Regions from separate parts of the Homo sapiens genome. Here region 1 is linked to region 2. The links are contacts of gene promoters, found by promoter capture Hi-C in blood cells and fetal thymus (Javierre and others, 2016). All regions are on one chromosome and are shown on one strand. The core of a region is centred on a gene start or on the middle of the fragment in contact, and the rest is flanking DNA. Distances in the headings are between cores, read along the strand shown.

Region 1 (4,195 bases), core at 664-3,163, 740 kb before region 2:
AAGGTTCATCCACCACAGGAGGCATCTGAAGAAATGGACTTTATGAAGAGGAGGTGCCATCCATTACCCAAAGGCAGCTCCTTGGCCTTCAGTCGAGCGGTGGCATCATGCTGCTTTGAAACTATTTCCCCCCTGCAACAGATACAACATAAATCATAAAAACACTGTTTTCAATGAACATAGAAATAAAAGCAGACATTCCATGATCCAACTATATTTATCATACCTGCCAATGTATGCACATTTATACCACTTCCATCTCCAGAGGAGAATGTACAATCATGCATTGAAAAAAGTATGGGGTGTGAGTGGGAAAATAACTACAGATAAGTGGAGCACCTCATATGTTCCAGAGGCTGTGCATTATCTCATTTAATTATCAGAACATCCCTATGGGGTAGGTATTGTTATCTTCATTTTACCAAGAGGAAAGTGAGGCTTGGAGAATATTTAACTTGCTAAAGGTGAAACAGCTGGTAACTGGCAAAGGTGGCATACGAATCCAAATCTAATTGGTTAACATAGCTTAGGAGACGTATTTAGCCACCAAAACGGCTATATTGGTCTAATATGCTTTCTAAGAGCAGTACATATTCTTTTGGGGACTTTATTTTCAAATTAACATAGAGAACCTAGACTGCAGTTAGACAAGAGTGATCATAAAGGAACCAGACCTCATGTTTCTGAGCCTGAGAAACTATAAATAGCTAACCTGAGAAAAATGGAGGCACATGACAGGCTTTTAATATTTGAAACGCTGGCTATCATTATGGTGTGCAGCTAAGTATGTTCTGTATAGGCACAAGGATGGAACCAAAACCAATTAACTAAAACAAAAAAAAAGCTTTCCAAAAGAAAAGTGATCTGAAGATGGAATGGATTACCTTGAGAGGTAAGGAAGTTCCCATCACTGATAATGTCAACAGTAGTTAGAACACACCTCATTTTGGCTAATGAAATTATAATTTGAATTTTCTTGTATATTTTATAACAAATTACCTAAACTAAATTCCATAAACTTGATAACAAGTGGACTTCGGGTAATCTTGTAAAGAGGTAGCTAGACCACTGGGTGCAGCAGGACTGAGGGATGGGCAAAGAGGAAGGAAGAAGTAGAAGTTTATAGTCAAGGGTGTGGCCTATTAAAAACTTGACTTTTTAGGCTGGGTACATGGCTCATGCCTGTAATCCCAGCAGTTTGGGAGGCCGAGGCAGGCGGATCACGAGATCAGGAGATTGAGACCATCCTGGCTAACATGGTGAAACCCCGTCTCTACTGGAAAAAAAAAAAAACAAAATTAGCTGGGCGTGGTGGTGTGTGCCTGTAGTCCCAGCTACTCAGGAGGCTGAGGCAGGAGAATGGCGTGAACCCGGGAGGTGGAGCTTGCAGTGAGCCGAGATTGCGCCACTGCACTCCAGCCTAGGCGACAGAGCCAGACTCCGTCTCAAAAACAAACCAAAAAACAAAAAAATTTAAAAAAAACTTGACTTTTTAAAAACAGCTTAAAGATATAATTGACATTTTTTAAAAACTACACATATTTGGGCCAGGCCGGGTGACCCACGACCTGTAATCCCAGCACTTTGGGAGGTTGAGGTGGGAGGATCACTTGAGGCTTGGAGGCCCAGTCCAGCCTGGGCAACACAGGGAGACCTCATCTCTACTAAAAAATGCAAAAAATCAGCCAGGTGTAGTGGTGCGCACCTACAGTCCCAGCTACTTGGGAGGCTGAGGTGGGAGGATCACTTGAGCCCAGAAGATGGAGGCTGCAGTGAGAGCCGTGAACACACCACCGCACCCCAGCTTGGGTGACAGAGTGAGACCTTGTCTCAAAAAAATAATAAACTACATGTATTTAAGATGTGCAATCTGATAAGTTTGACCTCTGTCCTGGAAACCATGCCACAATTAAGATAATGAACATATAATGTGGAATCTAGAAAAGTTGAACAGTAAAATCGTGGTTACTAGAGGCTAGAGAGTAGGAGAATTGGGGAGATGTTGGTCAAGGAGCACAAAATTTCAGTTAGGTGGGAGGAATTAGTTCAAGAGATCTATTGAACATCGTGGTGAATATAGTTAATAACAATATATTGTATACTTGAAAATTACTGAGAGAGTAGATTTTAAGTATTTTCACCAAAACAAAAGGTAAATATGTGAGGTAATTCACACATTAATTAGCTTGCATAGCCATTCCACAATGTGTGTGTGTGTGTGTGTGTGTGTATATATATATATATATATATGCACATCATGTTGTACACTGTAAATGTATACAATATACAATTTTTGCCAATTAATTAAATTTAAAAATATAAACTTAAAATACCGTCAAACATGTTGTATAGATTAATCTTGAATATGACTGACTTATTTTCTTCAAGTCAGACATTTTAAAAGGCCAGAATTATGAAACATTAAATAGAAAAATATTACCCTCACTTCCTTGCTAGGTATGTCCTTGGTGATGTAGGGCTGGACTCACAAAAGAGCACTTCCAACACTACTGTTAATAAAGTCAGGAAAAGATGCCATGTGGCATCCTATTTTTAAAATCTATATTCACTAATGAGTATATATGCGAAGTTATAGCTGGTCTTCACTTGAAATGGTACTTCATAGGCACGTTCCTCAACTTTACTTAGATAACTAAATTTATAGAGTACTATACTTTCTGAATAGAGCCCAGAGTTTTGCTCTTTGATAAGCTGTGTCAAGACAAGACCGTTTTTTATCTCCCCAGAATTCCCTTGGCTATTTTCAAGTCCCACAGACTGGTAGACTATGTGAATTAAAAAGAATTTTTGTCATCTAGAAAGCCAGCTGAGGGGAACTGATCAGCCCAGTAATGTTTTCAGTGCCTCCTCACAGATAGAACCCAACCTCTCTCGGTTAAAAGGCAGCTGGGCCTGTGTCCATTCAGGAGAGGATCCTAGTACTATACTTGTAACCTTTAGTCAAGTTAATGAAAAGCTTGGCATATGGGGGGATAATCTTTGGCGTATGTTTATAATATCCCCTGTATTTTAAAATTTTAAATAATTTTATTAAGATATATCTTGGAGTCCATCGTTTTCGGTCAGTTTTTCCGGTTACTACATGATCTTTCAAAATAGTTTCAAATCTCTTATTTCAGGAAAAATAATTTGTAAGTATAATTTAAGTATTATAATCCTTCCTTCCTTCCTTCCTTCTTTCCCTCCCTCCCTCCCTTCCCTCCCCTCCTTCCCTCCCTCCCTCCCTTTCCTTCCTTCCTTCCTTCCTTCCTTCCTTCCTTCCTTCCTTCCTTCCTTCTTCTATCTTTTTCTTTGCATTTTTAGCTACTGGAAGGGGCTGGGGCCCTGGTGATGCCCTGAGGCATCCTGTTCAATTGATCTTAATGAGCAGCTTCCCATTCTCTTCATCCATGGGTTTCTGATGGTATCCATTTTTTACATCCAATTTTTAATACTATTGATTTCCTTCATAAACTACCAAGGTAGCCTACATTTTTTTTAAAAAAAAAAAAGTAAAATAAAATGAAAATATCCATCACCCAAAAAAGTTTCCTTATGACCTTTTGTCACTCCTCCCTCTCATACCTCCCACTCTTCTCCCCAGACCTCACCCCCACAACCATATACAACTAGATAGAAGTCATTCGTCAGATATATATTTTGCAAGTATCTTCCAACAGCCTGAGGCTTGCCTTTTAATTTTCTTAACAGTATCTTTTGAAAAGAAAAAGTTTTTAATTTTAATCCAGTCTAGTTGATTGATGTTCTTTTCATTTATAGCTTATGCTTTTGTGTATCATATTTAAAAATCTTTGCCAAGCCCAAGGTCACTACATTTTTCATCCATGTTTTCTTCTAGAAGTATTATGATTCAGGCTCTTATATTAAAGTCTGTGATCCATGTCATTCATGAAGTTTTGTAAATGGTGAGGTAAGCGTTGAAGTTTTTTTTTTTTTTTTTTTTTTTTTTGCATATGGTTATCCAATTGCCCCAGCACCATTTGTTAAAAAGGCTATTCTTGCCGGGAGCGGTGACTCACACCTGTAATCCCAGCAATTTGGGAGGCCAAGGTGGGCAGGTCACCTGAGGTCAGGAGTTCGAAAACAGCCTGGCCAACATGGCAAAACCCCATCTCTACTAAAAATTAGCTGGGCATGGTAGCAGGCACCTGTAATCCCAGCTACTCAGGAGGCT
Region 2 (4,771 bases), core at 2,238-4,737:
GTTCTCTATTCTGTGCCAAGAAGTAGGGATACAGTGGTTAACAAAAGAACAAAATCTCTGCCCTAAAGAAACTCACATTCCGTTGAGAGGTGGGAGTGGTCATAGGCTAAATACTTGCCAGTGTTTACTGAGAAAAATATGAATGAGATAAAATAAGAGGTGGTACTGGGCATTGACCAAAATAGCACTGAAAGGTAACAATTGGCCTGAGAGGCCTGAGGGATGACAAGCAATCAGTCAAGTAAGAAGTTATTCCAGGCCCAAAGAAGACAAACATCGTACCTTGAGGCAGGCCCAGGCATGGCAGAAATCAGCTTAGTGTGTCTAGAGTAGGAAGGTCAGGTTGAAATGTACAAGTGAAGGCAGAGCTAAAAAAGAGAAAGGCAGCAGCCAGATCCTTCAGGCCATAGTAGGTCAAGTAAGGAGTGCAGAGGCAATTGGTTTCAGCCAGAGAGCTACAAGATTTGATTCATGGTTTATGTAAGAGATACTTTTGGCTGCTCTGTGGATGAAAATCTGGAGCGGAAGCAAGCAGGTCGGTTAAGAGGCTTCTAAAGTATCAGCTTAGAAATGATGGTAGCTTTAGAAAAAAAAGAAAAATAAATAAATGATGGTAGCTTGGATGAGGATGCTGACAGTAGAGATGGAGAAAAGTAGATGGATGTAGCACACATATCTGCTGTAGGAGTCAGTAAGACTTATGGATTGATTAGAAGGGACTGGGAAGGTCTTAAAATGAAACAATGGTATCATAGAAGTTCATCTCCTTCTGCAGGGTAGGGAAGCATCTCAGGGTACACATTCTCAAAGAGGTAACATTTAAGCCCAATCTTAAAAGCAAGTGTGAAAAAAAAAAAAAAAAGAAGTGTTGGTGAGGACGTGGAGAAATTGGGACCCCTGTGGGAATGTAAACTGGTGCACTCACTGTAAAATAGTATGATGGTTCTTCAAAAAATTAAACCTAGAATTACCACATGATCAAGTAACTCCTAGGGACTCAGATATTTGCCCCCTTCTATTTATAGCAGCATTATTCACAATAGCCCAAAGTTGGAGGCACAAGTGTCTATCAATGGATGAATGGGTAAACAAAATGTGGTATATACAGTCGACCCTCCACATTTATGGGTTCCACATCTGTTGGTTCCACCAACCGCAGATCAAAAAAACACATCTGTACTGAATGTGTAGACTTTTTTTCTTGTCATTCCTTAAACAATACTGTATAACAACTATTTACAAAGCATTTACATTGTAGTAGGTATTATAAATAATCTAGAGATGATTTAAAGTATCCAAGAGGATATGCATAGGCTATATGCAAATACTACACCATTTTATATCAGGGACTTGAGCATCCTAGGGTTTTGTTATTCGCAGGAGGTCCTGGAAGGAATCCCCTACAGATAAGGAGGGATGATTGTACATATGATGGAATATTAGTCTTCAAAAGAAAATTTTCACATATGCCACAACATGGATGAACACTAAGACATTATCTAAGGATTTTAAATGAGTAGGGATAAAGATCATAATACTTTAAATGCCCCACTGAAAAACAAATGTCACAGTTCACACCTCATCCACTACATGCCTTCGTAATACTGCTTCTACCTAAAATTCTCTTCTGAGCTCATGGGTGCCTGGAGAAAACCTACCTGCTTTTCTTTTCTTTTTTAAAAATTGTGGTGAAATACATATAAAATTTACCATCTTAACCATTTTTAAGTGCACACCTTAATGGCATTAGGTACTGTCACACTGTTGTGCAACCATTGCTACCATCCATCCATAGAACTTTTTTCATCTTGCAAAACTGAGACTTTCTGTCCCTATGAATTTCACTACGCTAGGAGGCACCTCATATAAGTGGATCATACAATATTTGTCTTTTCCGTTTAAAATCCTGATGCAAAACTCTGGCTTTATCAGATTCTGAAAAGCCTAGATCTTTCTTTGCCATGTTATAGGGGCAGGAAATAGCATTCATTTAATAGATACTTGAACTCCTACTATGTTTCAGACAGCAATGACTCTGTCCTCCTAGATGTCAGAACAGTGGTGAAGACTGACATCCAGGCCCAAGGTCATAAAGTTATGTAGCGTCAGTTTTGAAAAGTGTAGTGAAGGAAAAGTGCTTGGGCAAGGGACCTGGTTCTAACAAGGGAGGCTACCCTACTTGCAGAGGCTGTGAGAAAAGGCTTCCCCAAGGAAAAGGCATTTAACACCTGACTGATGCGTAGGAGTGACTCAGAAAAGAAGTCAGAGACCTAAGCCAGCCAGTAAGACAAAGGGGGACGGTAGAGACAGGTTAGATTGGACATTTTATTGCAGCAGATAACACGTTTTCCAACCCCCAAAAATGTCCAATTTAGACTCCCATACGCAGGAATCAGAGGCTATGAACCAAAGCCGGAGATTTGGTAATAGGCTTCTTCTGTGTTTTCTGGACTTTTTATCTTATTGGAAATTATCTTCTTAAATTCTTACATTCGAAACCCACAAGGTAAAAAGAATATCCTTCCCTCTTTCTAACATGGGGGCCAAAGTTTCTCTCCGAGGTCACAGCTGGTGGAAGGGAAGGCTACTTTTGGAAAGATGGAACCTGGCTTGCCACCTTGTCCTTCCGCCATCCCTATTACTCTCCCTCAATCTCCGGATGACTTTTCTACTTATGATCTTGGAGTATGAGCAAGTCACGCGTCCGTCACTACTTGATGGGATCTTAAAGGCATCAGAAAGGAGAAGCGCCGCCACCACCATCACCTGTTAGTTCAGGATGCAGGTGTGAGGCAGCCTGGGGGCGCGGGCGGCCGGAAGGGGCACAGGAACTGCAGCCCCCACGCACCTGGAGACTCATCCGCGGCATCCGCGTACCCACAGCCCACGACCTCCCGCTCACCCTTCTCCTTGGTCACGATGGAGATGAGCGGCACCCGCGGGCGGTCGCTGAAGACCTCGGCCTGCTGCACCAGCGCCTCGCGCACGCTGTGGAAGTCGCTGAGGACCACCACCAGGTAGTGGCCGATAAAGAAGCTGAAGATGCTGCCGTACACGCGGGCTAGGTGAGCCAGGAGCACCTGCGGGCCTATGACCGAGGGATCAATCCCTGCGGCCCTGGTCCTGCTGCTCAGCCAGCTCCGCCGCCGGAGGAAGGGAGGCAGCAGCACGTGACCGAAGTTGCCCACCAGAGGCCAGGGCGTGGGCCCGGGCGGGATGCCCCGCGCCCGGCGCCTCCGCAGCCAGCTCCAGCCCAGCAGCGCTACGAGGCCGCATAGCAGCAGCGCGCCCCCGCTGGGGTCCAGCCGCAGCAGCCCCAGAGGCGCACGCAGGAGGCGCGCGGGCCAGGGCGGGTCCTCGGCCGGCGGCTGCGACGGCCCCGGAGACGACATGGTCCGGGCGCCGGCGGCCTCGGGTTCCCCTTGCTGCCTGGAGGAGACGCGCACGCAGCTGCCTGACCCGCGGCGCCAGTGTCCTGCTCTGCTCTGGAAGGTCGGGGGCGGGCAGGGGGTGTAGGAACGCCCCCGGATTGGCTGCGCCGCGCGCATTCTCCCCGCCGCCGCCACTCAGCGACGCCTGGGCGGAACCTGGAGGCGCGCCGGCTGCCTGGCGGAGGGGGTTGGCGGGCTAGCAGGCGGGGGACCTGAAGTTTGCCCCGAAGTCCGGTTACGACCCTTTGCAGGGTCGGGCTTGGCGGTGACTGTCCCTGAAACTGGGATGCTGGCAACACAACCTTGCGCTCTGATTGGCTGTTGGTTTCCCTTGTGTCATTCGTTTGTCATTATCACTCGTTTGTCAGTTGACAAACACAAACGCATGGTTATGAAGTGCATAAACCGTGTTAGGATCTGTACTGAGTGTGGGAAACTGGTGAACAGGCCCGTGAGATGGGTCGGCCTTAGCACCTGTGCCCTGAGCTGGGAGAATGGGGTCAACGCCCTATTCCTGCATGCTTCGGTGTAGTAGTGAAAAGACGGGGTTCCTTATCTAAACTGGGATTCGCAGCACCCTTTCCTCCACGCAGAGACAGCAGGATGCTGGGAAGCCGTGGAATGCAGAATCTGTGGGTGTCGGCTTGGCAGCCAACTCTGCGGAAGGGATGATGGCGGGAGTGGGGGGAGCGAGGGGCGGGCAGCGAGGCACGAGGAGTCACGTTCTGAGAGCTTGCCCTGGGCTAGAAAACTTATGCGGAGAGCGAAAGCTGTGTCCATTCCTGCGTGTGGCCTGGGTGCATTAGAAAATGTACTTAAATCCAGAAATAGCGAAACCAGAATTTGCTTGGTGGATTTAAGTAGCTAGAAATATGAAAAGAAGATAACCGGTTGAGGGAGGGGTGGCAATATTATTATTGGTGTTAGACAACACTTGAAAGGCTGAGGTTGAAATATTAGATATGAATTGTATAATACTTTAAAAACAAAGTATTACTTTATTTTATCTTCTCAGATAATGGCTTTCCTGATAAGGGCTTCCCTTTCAGTCTTGTTTAGGCCAAATCCTGTAGTTTCTGTTCAAGTTGGATTGAGCATAGAATTGTCTGTACTGGGCCATTTTTCTAGCCGTTTCATTTTTCTCCATACATTAAAAGTTTGAACACCACGCTGTACCTATAAAAATGTGATCAAAGAAAGCATAGTGAGTCCTCAAATAAATACATGATCCATTTTATTTTTCTATAAACAAGTGATGCCAGTAGGATATGTTAAATTTCAAGTCCACTCTGTTCTCATATTCTTTTTGACATGCTTTTCATGTTATTTTAAGCTTATGC

Evidence for each region. The method cuts DNA at HindIII sites, captures the fragments that hold promoters and counts their contacts. A CHiCAGO score of 5 or more calls a contact.
Region 1: a fragment that was not itself captured here is called in contact with the fragment with the promoter of CYP2U1 in region 2 in 1 of 17 cell types (activated CD4 T cells); the score reaches 7.8 in activated CD4 T cells.

What each region holds. Positions count from the first base shown.
Region 1 is chr4:108,673,733-108,677,927 of GRCh38, reverse strand. No RefSeq gene overlaps it. Among named protein-coding and RNA genes, the nearest start is that of OSTC, 25 kb to the right of the region's middle. The HindIII fragment of the contact is 2,133 bases long and covers 847-2,979 here.
Region 2 is chr4:107,930,265-107,935,035 of GRCh38, reverse strand. CYP2U1 (cytochrome P450 family 2 subfamily U member 1) reads right to left here and starts at 3,487. Exons shown (of 5, transcript NM_183075.3): 1 at 2,903-3,487. The coding sequence starts at 3,392. It overlaps CYP2U1-AS1 (CYP2U1 and SGMS2 antisense RNA 1), which reads left to right and starts at 2,917. Exons shown (of 7, transcript NR_125929.1): 1 at 2,917-3,065. All of the region lies in intron 1 of LOC107986298 (a long non-coding RNA gene), which reads left to right. LOC124900751 (a long non-coding RNA gene) reads left to right here and starts at 3,451. Exons shown (of 2, transcript XR_007058221.1): 1 at 3,451-4,063. RefSeq lists enhancers at 2,750-2,819, 2,880-2,949, 3,610-4,117 and a silencer at 3,160-3,749. The HindIII fragment of the contact is 6,450 bases long and covers 1-4,766 here.